Linked DNA regions of Homo sapiens: all the other regions are linked to region 3. Evidence: promoter capture Hi-C in human tissues and cell types (Jung and others, 2019). All regions are on one chromosome and are shown on one strand. The core of a region is centred on a gene start or on the middle of the fragment in contact, and the rest is flanking DNA. Distances in the headings are between cores, read along the strand shown. Region 1 holds the start of CLSTN1 (calsyntenin 1). Region 2 overlaps CTNNBIP1 (catenin beta interacting protein 1). Region 3 holds the start of PIK3CD (phosphatidylinositol-4,5-bisphosphate 3-kinase catalytic subunit delta).

Region 1 (3,250 bases), core at 608-3,107, 170 kb after region 3:
CACATATTTTTAAAATGTGTGGGTTTTCCCCAAGAGAAGCAAAACTTTTGACATTTCTCTTGGATATATTAGAGTTTCAGACCTCCAACCCACATCTGGAAAGAACATTTCAAACTTAGCTTGATGTTACTTTTAAAAATCAAATGGCCAGCAATGAGATACTTAGTGACTAAGATCTGAATTTGACAGAGTCAACAGAATGTTAGAAATGAAATAAAAGAAGTATTCAAAGTTTATCATCCTCGATGTTTAGAAAGGAACATGGAACAAAAGATGCATTTGCCGCCTCTGCCCTTTAATTCGTGAACACCATACTTCTCTCCTTATGTCACGCCAGGGAAGGGAAAATAAGAATTTTTAAAAAGCTTGCTAAATTCAAATATGACCATTTCATCTAGATTTCTATCAATCCTCCTCCCCAAAATTTCTTTTGATTAAAAAAAAATCAGAACAACAGATTTAAGCCTACAGTAGATTCTACAGACTACACCTAGATTACTCTGCTCTAAGGCCAAGGAAAATGTTTACGATTTCAAGATCCACTCAGAAGCAAATACTGTATCTGCAATGCGTAAGCTTTTCGTTGGCAAGACCAGTCAATAGCAGAGGCATGCAAGGTTTAAAAGGTTAAGTGGATGAAGGTTAAAAGCTAATAATAAATTAGCCAAGAAATACTACTTCCCACCGAGCCATAAAATAATTTCGGTCCTACAATCCTAAAAAACCAGAGAGGTTTCTCGTTTTTGTAGAGAACATCTAACCCTCCACGGTCTAAATGACCGTCAGAAAAACAGCACCAAGGCACCAGGGGTAGCAGAGACGGAGATTTCTAACACTGGGTGAGCCCGCGGTCGCAAATCTCATCGCGATTTCACCTTTGGGTGAAAAGGTGGGAGGGAAGCACTAAGTTTCAGCCTCGGCTCCACTGGAAACAGACAACGTCTGAAGGACTCTGGGAGGAGGCGGAAAGGGGCGAAGTCGTGGTGTCCGCGGTGCAGCAACACAGAATCGGGATCTTGGAAACGGGATGCGGAGGAGTGGGCTCTTATGTAAGCACACACCAAAACTGTGCGTGCACCCCCCGCCTGATGCACATCTGAGCACACGTACACAGAGCATCTCACCCAGGGGTGCAGCCCCAGCCTGCGTGCGCCGCTGAGCAGGGCGGACTGACCCTTCGGCCCGTCTGCACGTTCCCCCAAATCAGCGCAGCCACCACCATGGGCTGCAGTGGGGGCAGCCCAGGCTCAGGAGCCCCGCCCGGGACGGAGCCTGGCTTCCCCGGGACGCCTGCAGCGCGCGCCCACAGTCTCCTGCGCCCTGGCCCCGGCTCCGCGAGCCCGACCCCCAACCCGAACCCCACGCCCTGACCCGGCTCCCTGCGCTCGGACCCGACTCCCCGCATCCCGGCTCGAATCCCGGCATCCGGCCCTACTCCCGCACCCGGACCCGAATCCCCGCACCGGGACCCGAATCCTGCACCCGGACCCGAATCCCGCACCGACCCAGCGGCCCGGCCCAGCCCCGGGGCTTACCTCGCGCGGCCCAGACCCCGCCGCCGCACAGCAGCCCGGCCAGCAGCAGCCGGGCGGCCGGGGCCAGCGCGGGAGCGGGGCGGCGCAGCATCGCCAGCCCGGGGCGGGAGCGGCAGGGAGGCGCGCGGGACGCCGAGCGGAGCTCTCGGAGCTCTCGGGGCTCTAGGGGCCTGGGGCTAGCTGCTCCGCGGCGCGGGGAGCTCCGGGGGTCCAAGGAGGAGCCGCCGCCGCCGCCGCCGTGACGCTGGGCCGCGCGCTCAGGACGCGGCGCCCTCCCCGCCTCAGAGCAGCGTCTTGCTGAAGGCAGCGGCAGCAACTAAGATGGCGGCGGCGCTCTCTCTCGGGTCCGGCGAGGGTACCCGGCCGGGGGCGGGGTGGCGGCGGGAGGGGCGGGGATGGGGAGCGACGCGAGGCGCGCGCGCGGCGGACCCTGGGAGCGCGCGGGCCCGGGAGGGGCGGGGGAGAGGAGCGGAGGGAGCGCGCGCGGCGGACCCGGCAGCGGGCGCGCGCCTCCGAGCCCGTCGGCCCCGCCTGGAGCGCGCGCCCGCGGGGACGCGCCTGGGGTGGGTTCCGAGCGGCCGGGAGGGGCCCGGGGGACTGTATCCCTTTCCCTGGCCGCAGATGGAGAGCCTCAACTCCGCGTCCCTACGCGCGCTCCCGGGCTCCTAAGGCCGGGTGAGCGGTACCCGGGGACCCGCTCCTCCTTCTCCACCCCGAGGACTCATCCTTCCCACCCGCTCCGCCGAGGAGCGCAGACCCCGGCGGAGCAGTGCGGCCCAGGACCCTTGTCACTTCGGGCAGGTCGCGTCGCCCCCCAGAACCTCGGGGTCCTCGTCTCCCCAGTAGAGGTGTTGAGAGGGGTCACGAAAGGGGGTCCAGGAGACGAGGTCAGCGAAACGCGCCTGGTAAACAGTTAAGGGCCGCGCAGCACTACCCACACCGGCTCCCGCCCCGGGACCTGCCCCCGGGGAGTCTGTCCTGAATTCACTGAAGGAATCTATTTGTGACTTTCAAAAGGCGGCTGGTGTGCGCGCTCTTTCTCAGTGACATGGTGCGATGCTGGTTCTTAGAAATGCGGAGGTCCGAATGGATAGAGAGGACAGAGAAGCCCTCCCCCTCTACCGTGGATCCCTACAGGGATCTTGGGGTCCTCCCAATTTCCCAGCGTCCAGCGGCCCCCTCCTCCTCGCCTCTGGACCCCTGGCACCCCCCCGCAGTGGAGGAAAGGCCTGGAACAGCCGTGGATGGGCGTGTGTGCAGGCACTGTACCCTATGAGACACTACTGGCTCCATTTTGCAGATAAGGAAACTAAGTCAGAAAGGTGAAATGACTTCCCCCGTTGGGACAACTATTGTAAAAAGAATCAGCCCTCAAGGACAGGATGTTCGCATTAGGGGGACACCAACAGCAAAAAGTGGAACCCTAAAATGTTCATTTTTCGAGACCGCTGGAGGAGCTATCCATGAATGTCACTGCTCCAGGTGGGGGTGGAGGAGGCTGGCAGCACTGGAGGCTGGGTGGAGACTGGTTTGTGGGGCGCAGAGGACTTATTTAGGAGACTAGTGGGCAAAGAGCCCAAAAACGTAGACTGAGGTCAGATTGGGGGAATGGACTTGATCCTACAGTCAACAGGAAGACCTGGAACGGCTGGGAACAGCGGTGTGATGTGACCTGGGGAAGGCTTCAAAAGCAATCTGGAATCCAACTCCCTGAG
Region 2 (3,140 bases), core at 609-3,108, 240 kb after region 3:
GAAGAATCTGGACAGGTGAGACACCACTGCTAGCCACAACTGGGGCTCCTCGAGTGGTGAAGTGAATGGGAACCATGAAGGAAGTGCCCCCCAGCCTTTGCATGGCCTCACTTCAGATAATCCTAACACACCAAGGAGCTGGAGGAACCTGCATGTTCCTATAACTGGATTGGCATGAGGCATCTGTTTACATCTTCTGGTTTAAAATATTTATCCTTGTGATTCTGGCCCAGATCTCGTTGTCTCTCCAGTCCTGAATTGAGTGAAACCCACCTTTTTACAGAGGCAAGAGTACCTGGCAGGCCTGCTCTGACAGCCTCTTGAAATTCAGCTGAAAACAATGCAAACAGGAAGGCATGTGGAGCCTGAGGAAGTTTCCTTGGCTGCCCCAGAACACTGAAGATCCTGGGCTATGTCTTCAGGCTCTACTGTTCTAACCAAGGGGACGTGCTGGTGGAGGTTTTCTCTCTGCACAGTGGGGGGACAAGGACAGAAGAAAAGAAAGGCATCTTTCGGCTTAATTTTAAAAGAGGTTCTTTTTTCTTCCCAGAGAACAGCTGGAGCCCTGGAACCTGGCCAAGTCAGAGCCTGAGACCTGAAGTCAGGAACCAGCACGCCTACAAAATCCAGCCACGGATCTTCCTTTAATTCAGTCTGACTCATTACCTTCAGCCTCTGGCAGGTTCCAGAGGGGTTACTAATGCAGAATCCAGAGCCTTCTTCTATTTATAAGCCAATGGAAGGGCTGGAATCCTAGCTCTTGCATGGGTACAAGCGCCCCCTCACTCCTGGGTATGAGGCCTCCCAGGCCTGACCGACCTTCCCCATGGGCTGTGCACCTGGCAGGAAGCTTCCTGAGCAAAGGCATCAAAAGATCCTCTGTGTCAACTGGAGGTAGAGGAACGCTTTTTCTCTCCTGGGACACCAGAGAGATCCCCAGCAAGCTGACTAAGTCCCCAAAAGGCAAATTAATTTGCATTTCTGTCAGGAAGGGACCACTTCCAGACCTAGTAATTCCAGGGATGGAGCCTGGCCCAGAGGTTCTGGAGAGCATGGGTCACCTCCAGAGAGTGCGGGTCACCTCCAGAGAGTGCGATCAGACTGGAAATTTTGACCTATGGAAGCTCCATCAATCCCGCTGTCAAAAGCTATGCCAGCTCTTTGCAGGGTCACAGCTTAAAATTTTAATTACATTAGGAAATTTAAAAGTACTTCAAGAAGAAAGGGGGAAAACTGACACAGTGCTATTTTTGGCGGGGGTGGGGGGCACTCACGTTTCTCCACAAGGTACATAAGGTCCCTTCACTCTGAACCACACTGACATGTTCACGCCACCCCATTCCCACAAGGACAAGCCTCATCCTCAGAGGCAGGCCTGGGCATGGCCCGGCCCTCCCATTGCCTGAGGGTCACCCAGATCTTCTCAACAGGCACCTCTCTCTCCAGCTCTTCTCCCCTTGCCCCATTCCCTCCATAGCTTTCCCTCATTAAAGCCTCTATAATTGGTTCAAACAAACAAGCTTCCTGAACTGAGTTTGCTGCATCCCCTCAGAATCCCAGGGCTGGGAAAGCCTCCAGCTTCCTGTGGTGAGGATTAGGTCATTAAATCAATTGGATCGGCTGCAGGACTGTGCCCCCGGAAGCAGCCCCCTCCTCACCACCCGGCTCTGGGGATGGTCATCCTCAGGACCTGGCTGAGAGACCCCAGGTGCAGCCTCCTGGGGAAACGCTTCCCAATCAAACTCTTCGGAAAATAAGTTTTGTTGGGCACAGTGGCAAATGCCTGTAATCCCAGCACTTTGGGAGACTGAGGTAGGAGAATTGCTTGAGGCCTGGACTTCAAAACCAGCCTGGGCAATAAAGTAAGACCCCATCTCTTTAAATTTTTTTTTTTTTTTTTTTTTTTTTTTTTGGAGATGGGGTCTCGCTCTTTCCCTCTGTCGCCCAGGCTGGAGTGCAGTGGCGCAATCTCGTTTCACTGCAACCTCTGCCTTCCAGTCTCAGGTGATTCTCCTGCCTCGGCCTCCCGAGTAGTTGGGACTACAGGTGCGTGCCACCATGTCCAGCTAATTTTATTTTGTATTTTTAGTAGGGACAGGGTTTTGCCATGTTGGCCAGGCTGGTCTCAAAATCCTGACCTCATGTGATCTGCCTACCTCAGCCTCCCAAAGTGCTGGCATTATAGACATGAGCCACCGAGCCTGGCTTCTACAAAAAATCTTTAAAAGATTAGCTGGGTGCAGCCTGGGCGCGGTGGCTCACGCCTCTAATCCCAGCACTTTGGGAAGCTGAGGCGGGCGGATCATGAGGTCAGGAGATCAAGACCATCCTGGCTAACACGGTGAAACCCCGTCTCTACTAAAAATACAAAAAATTAGCCAGGCGTGGTGGTGGGTGCCTGTGGTCCCAGCTACTCGGGAGGCTGAGGCAGGAGAATGGCGTGAACCCGGGAGGCAGAGCTTGGAGTGAGCCGAGATCGCGCCACTGCATTCCAGCCTGGGGGACAGAGCGAGACTCCGTCTAAAAAAAAAAAAAAAAAAAGATTAGCTGGGTGTGCAGTGGCTTGCACCTGTAGGCCCAGTTACTTGGGAGGCTGAGGTGGGAGGATCCCAAGAGCCCAGGAGTCTGAGGTTGCAGTGAGCTATGATCACACCACTGCACCCCAGCCTGGGCAACAGAGCGAGACTGTCTCAAAAAAAAAAAAAGAAAAGAAGTTTTAAGGCCACTGCCTCTTTCCAACAGGCTGTCAGCATAAAGGTATGTGTTAATTTGCATAAAGATATAGGTGTATCTGTTTACTTCGCAAATACACCCATCTGTGCTACAGAGGCCAGGGTTCCTGGCTCCACGCATCACGTGAGCCACACTGCTTGCTTGTTTGGGTGATTGCTTCTGCTCTACTAAGCAGGAGGCGACCTTCCTGATCCTTTCCCCTCCAGCTACCTCGGAACAAAACATAATCCAAGGAAGGAGGAAACCTCCCCCTAAGAGGCTGTTGAGGACTCAGTTTCCTTCCTCTCCAAATGTTTAACAAGCCAATAATCAAAATCAACAATGCTTTAAACAAAGACCCCTTCAGAATCTCCCATGTGTTTATCCCATTAACTTACTGTGGGAAACGGTATCGGGACAAAAACTCC
Region 3 (3,124 bases), core at 284-2,783:
TGGATCATGAGGTCAGGAGTTCAAGACCAGCCTGGTGAACATGGCGAAACCCCACCTCTACTAAAAATACAAAAATTAGCCAGGCACGGTGGTGTGCACCTATAGTCCCAGCTACTCAGGAGGCTGAGGCAGGAGAATTGCTTGAACCCAGGAGGCTGAGGCTGTGGTGAGCCAAGATCACGCCACTGCACTCCAGCCTGGGCAACAGAACAAGATTCCTCAAAATAAACAAAACAAAGAAACAAAACAACAAAAAACAAACAAAAAAACATGAAAATCAGCTGGGTGTCGTGGCGTGTGCCTGTAATCCCAGCTACTTGGGAGGCTGAGGTAGGAGAATTGCTTGAACCCAGGATGCAGAGATTGCAGTGAGCCGAGATGGCACCACTGCATTCCAGCCTGGACAACAGAGCAAGACTGTCTCAAAAAAAAGAAAAGAAAAAAGAAAAAGAAAGAAAAGAAAAGAAAAAAAGGAATAGAGGCTTGGGATCCTGGGGAGGTGGTACACAAGTTAAGGGAGAGTGAGGGGAGAGAGGGTAAGGTGAATGAAGCTTGTCTTCTTATGCGGATAAAATTTCTCAGGTAAGAAAAGTTAGCTCTGAGCAGCCCTCCGCCTGATACTAATACTTTACCAATGGAGATTTTCCTTTTCTTTTCTGTTTTTGAGACAGGGTCTCACTTTGTTTCCCAGGCTGGAGTGCAGTGGTGCCATCATGGATCACTGCAGCCTCCATTTCCCTGGCTCAAGCCATCCTCCCACCTCAGCCTCCCGAGTAGCTGGGACTACAAGGTGTGCACCACCACGACTGGCTAATTTTTAATTTTTTTGTAGAGACGGGGGTTTCCCTATGTTGCCCAGGCTGGCTTGAATTCCTGGGCTCAAGTGATCCTCCCGCCTCGGCCTCCCAAATTGCTGGGATTGCAGGAGTGAGCCACAGTGCCAGGCCTGGAGATTTTCTTTATAGATAGAAATCATTTTACAAAAGGACAGCTTTTCAGATCTACTCCTGTGCCTGCAGTTTCTAAGAATAATCCCTTCAAAATATGGCGAAGAAGTATATTTTGGGGTGGCACACGCTGGTCTCCCATAGTCACATTTTGGGTGTGTGTCCTGAGCCCCAACACTGGTCACCTCGCAATGGCGCTTGGGGTCCCTGGGTGCCTAGAGCTGCAGGTTACCCCCTCTTCTTCTCCTGCTCTCAGCCTTTCTCCCGCTCCTGCTGAAATTCTTTCCTGCGTGAAGGCGGAGCGCTTAAAGGCGCCTAGGACCTTTATTTCGTTGTTTTCCTTTGCATAAAAAGAAAACTTGTTTTGTAGAAGGGCAAGCAAGGTGCAGCTTCCAGAGGCACCTGGGATGATGCCCCTCTAGCGGTAGGCGAACTGGGGAGTGTGGGCGGCGGGGGAAGGCGAGGCCCTGGAGGACCTGTTGTTTTTCCTGTTGCAAGTGAAAAGGAAACAAAGTGGGAAGTGGAGTGTGCGGGTTGGCGGCAGGCGGGGCGCCCCGGCGCGCCCCGCCTCCCTCCCTCGAGGCTCACTCGCGCCCAGCGCAGTCGCTCCGAGCGGCCGCGAGCAGAGCCGCCCAGCCCTGCCAGCTGCGCCGGGACGGTAAGCGATCGCCGCTGGCTGCGTCAGGGGAGGTGGGAAGAGGACCGCGGCCAGGGGCTTTGGGAGCTGCGGCTGCGCTCGGGGGCGCGGGGCTGGCTGGCGGGCGTCTCTCCGGCACACACAGCCCGTGCGCCCTGGCCCTGGGCGCCTCCCCGAGTCTAGCGAGCCGGGTCCTGGGAGCCCCGGGGGCCGGGCTGCTGGGACCTGGGCGGGGGCTGCCCTAGAGGCCCGGGGCCGTCCCCCGTGGGCCCGCCGAGAGGGGCGTGCGCAGCTCCCCGGCGCCTGCACTGCGCGCCTTGCCCGCCTGGCCCGGCAGCGGGGTTTCAGCTGCGCTCACAGCGGCGGTGCGGCCTCCGGTGCGCCGGCTGAGGCGCGAGGATACTGGAAGCGCTCAGCGCGTGCGCCCGCTCCGAGCGCTGACTAGAGGACCAGGGGCCTCCTCTGTACGGCAGCGGGGTCCACAGAGAGCGCGCTGGTGATGTCGCCCGAGTGCCCTGGCGCGGAGAGAGGGCTGCGCACAGTTCGCCGGCGCCCGGGTCCTGTGCGCCCTTCCCAGCCTGGGCAAGTGGGGAGCGGGGCTGCAGAGGGGCCGGGGTGGAAGTTTTCGGGGCTTCCTCCCGGCTCGTGGACCCGCGCCCCGCCTCCCAGTCCCGGGCCTCCCGCGTTGCTCGCCGCGTTTGCTGCAGCGGCGCAGGCGAGATCAGCTCCGGATCTGCGGCCGAGCCGGGGTTACGCCGGCAAAACCGCCCCCAGCTTTGCATTTCCGGACTTTTTAAAAAAATACTCTTACCCGTAATTCAGCCTGAATGAGGCTTTTTAAAAAAATCGAGTTTCCTGTTTTTATTTAGGCTTCCTCATTTGCACCTCCTCCTTTGAGGTAGAGAAGAGGGGAACTGGGACGACCTTTCGTGGGCACCAGGATGGGGGCGTTGCAGGGCGGGGAGACGGGGGTCCAGAGAACCGGGGAAGGGCCGCTGGGAGGTCCCGAAAAGTGCGCTGTGGGTGGGGCGAGGGTGAAGCAGGTAGGGGCGAGATTTCCGGGGTCGCGGGTGGGGGGCGCCCTGGAGCGGCCAAGGTGCAGGGTCCTCGCGTGGCACCCTTGGGATCTGCCCAGTTTGCGGATGGAGCGCGGGGCTGATCGGGCAGGTCTCACTTGTGCAGGTGTTCCCTGGAAGGTGGGACCTGCAGATCTTGAACCCCACCAGACTCCATCAAGGGGGCTTCTTCCCGCCGATTCCTGAGAAGTCCTACCTCTGAGATGCTGGGCACAGCCGCACGTGGATGTGGGCGGGTGTGCCGTGGGTTGGAGTGGGAAGGGGCAATTATTCCTCTCTCAGGGCTCTCGGAGGGGAAGGTTTACTGCTCCCTAGGGACTTTGAAACCAAGGGCTAACCCCCTGCTCTCTTCCAGGAGAGTGGGATACCGCCCGGGTGCCTGACGGTGCCTTGGTGTTCTTGACAATTGAATGGTACCATCGGGACATTACTCCCCAAAGAACTGGTCGTTCTTACCTAGGTGA

What was found. Contacts are between HindIII fragments. The study calls those that stand out against the background at their distance.
Region 1: a contact is called between the fragment with the promoter of CLSTN1 here and the fragment with the promoter of PIK3CD in region 3, in 5 of the 25 tissues and cell types used here (IMR-90 fibroblasts, adrenal gland, bladder and 2 more).
Region 2: a contact is called between a fragment that was not itself captured here and the fragment with the promoter of PIK3CD in region 3, in 2 of the 25 tissues and cell types used here (dorsolateral prefrontal cortex and mesenchymal stem cells).

The regions. Positions count from the first base shown.
Region 1 is chr1:9,822,108-9,825,357 of GRCh38, forward strand. It overlaps CLSTN1 (calsyntenin 1), which reads right to left and starts at 1,858. Exons shown (of 19, transcript NM_001009566.3): 1 at 1,536-1,858. The coding sequence starts at 1,626. RefSeq lists silencers at 1,580-1,659, 1,670-1,819, 1,990-2,039, 2,060-2,119 and an enhancer at 1,732-2,448. The HindIII fragment of the contact is 7,682 bases long and covers 1-3,250 here.
Region 2 is chr1:9,889,899-9,893,038 of GRCh38, forward strand. All of the region lies in intron 1 of CTNNBIP1 (catenin beta interacting protein 1), which reads right to left. Among named protein-coding and RNA genes, the nearest start is that of CTNNBIP1, 19 kb to the right of the region's middle. The HindIII fragment of the contact is 3,526 bases long and covers 96-3,140 here.
Region 3 is chr1:9,650,198-9,653,321 of GRCh38, forward strand. It overlaps PIK3CD (phosphatidylinositol-4,5-bisphosphate 3-kinase catalytic subunit delta), which reads left to right and starts at 1,534. Exons shown (of 24, transcript NM_005026.5): 1 at 1,534-1,605. It overlaps PIK3CD-AS1 (PIK3CD antisense RNA 1), which reads right to left. Exons shown (of 2, transcript NR_027045.1): 2 at 2,413-3,124. RefSeq lists a silencer at 1,447-2,336 and an enhancer at 2,517-2,586. The HindIII fragment of the contact is 15,008 bases long and covers 1-3,124 here.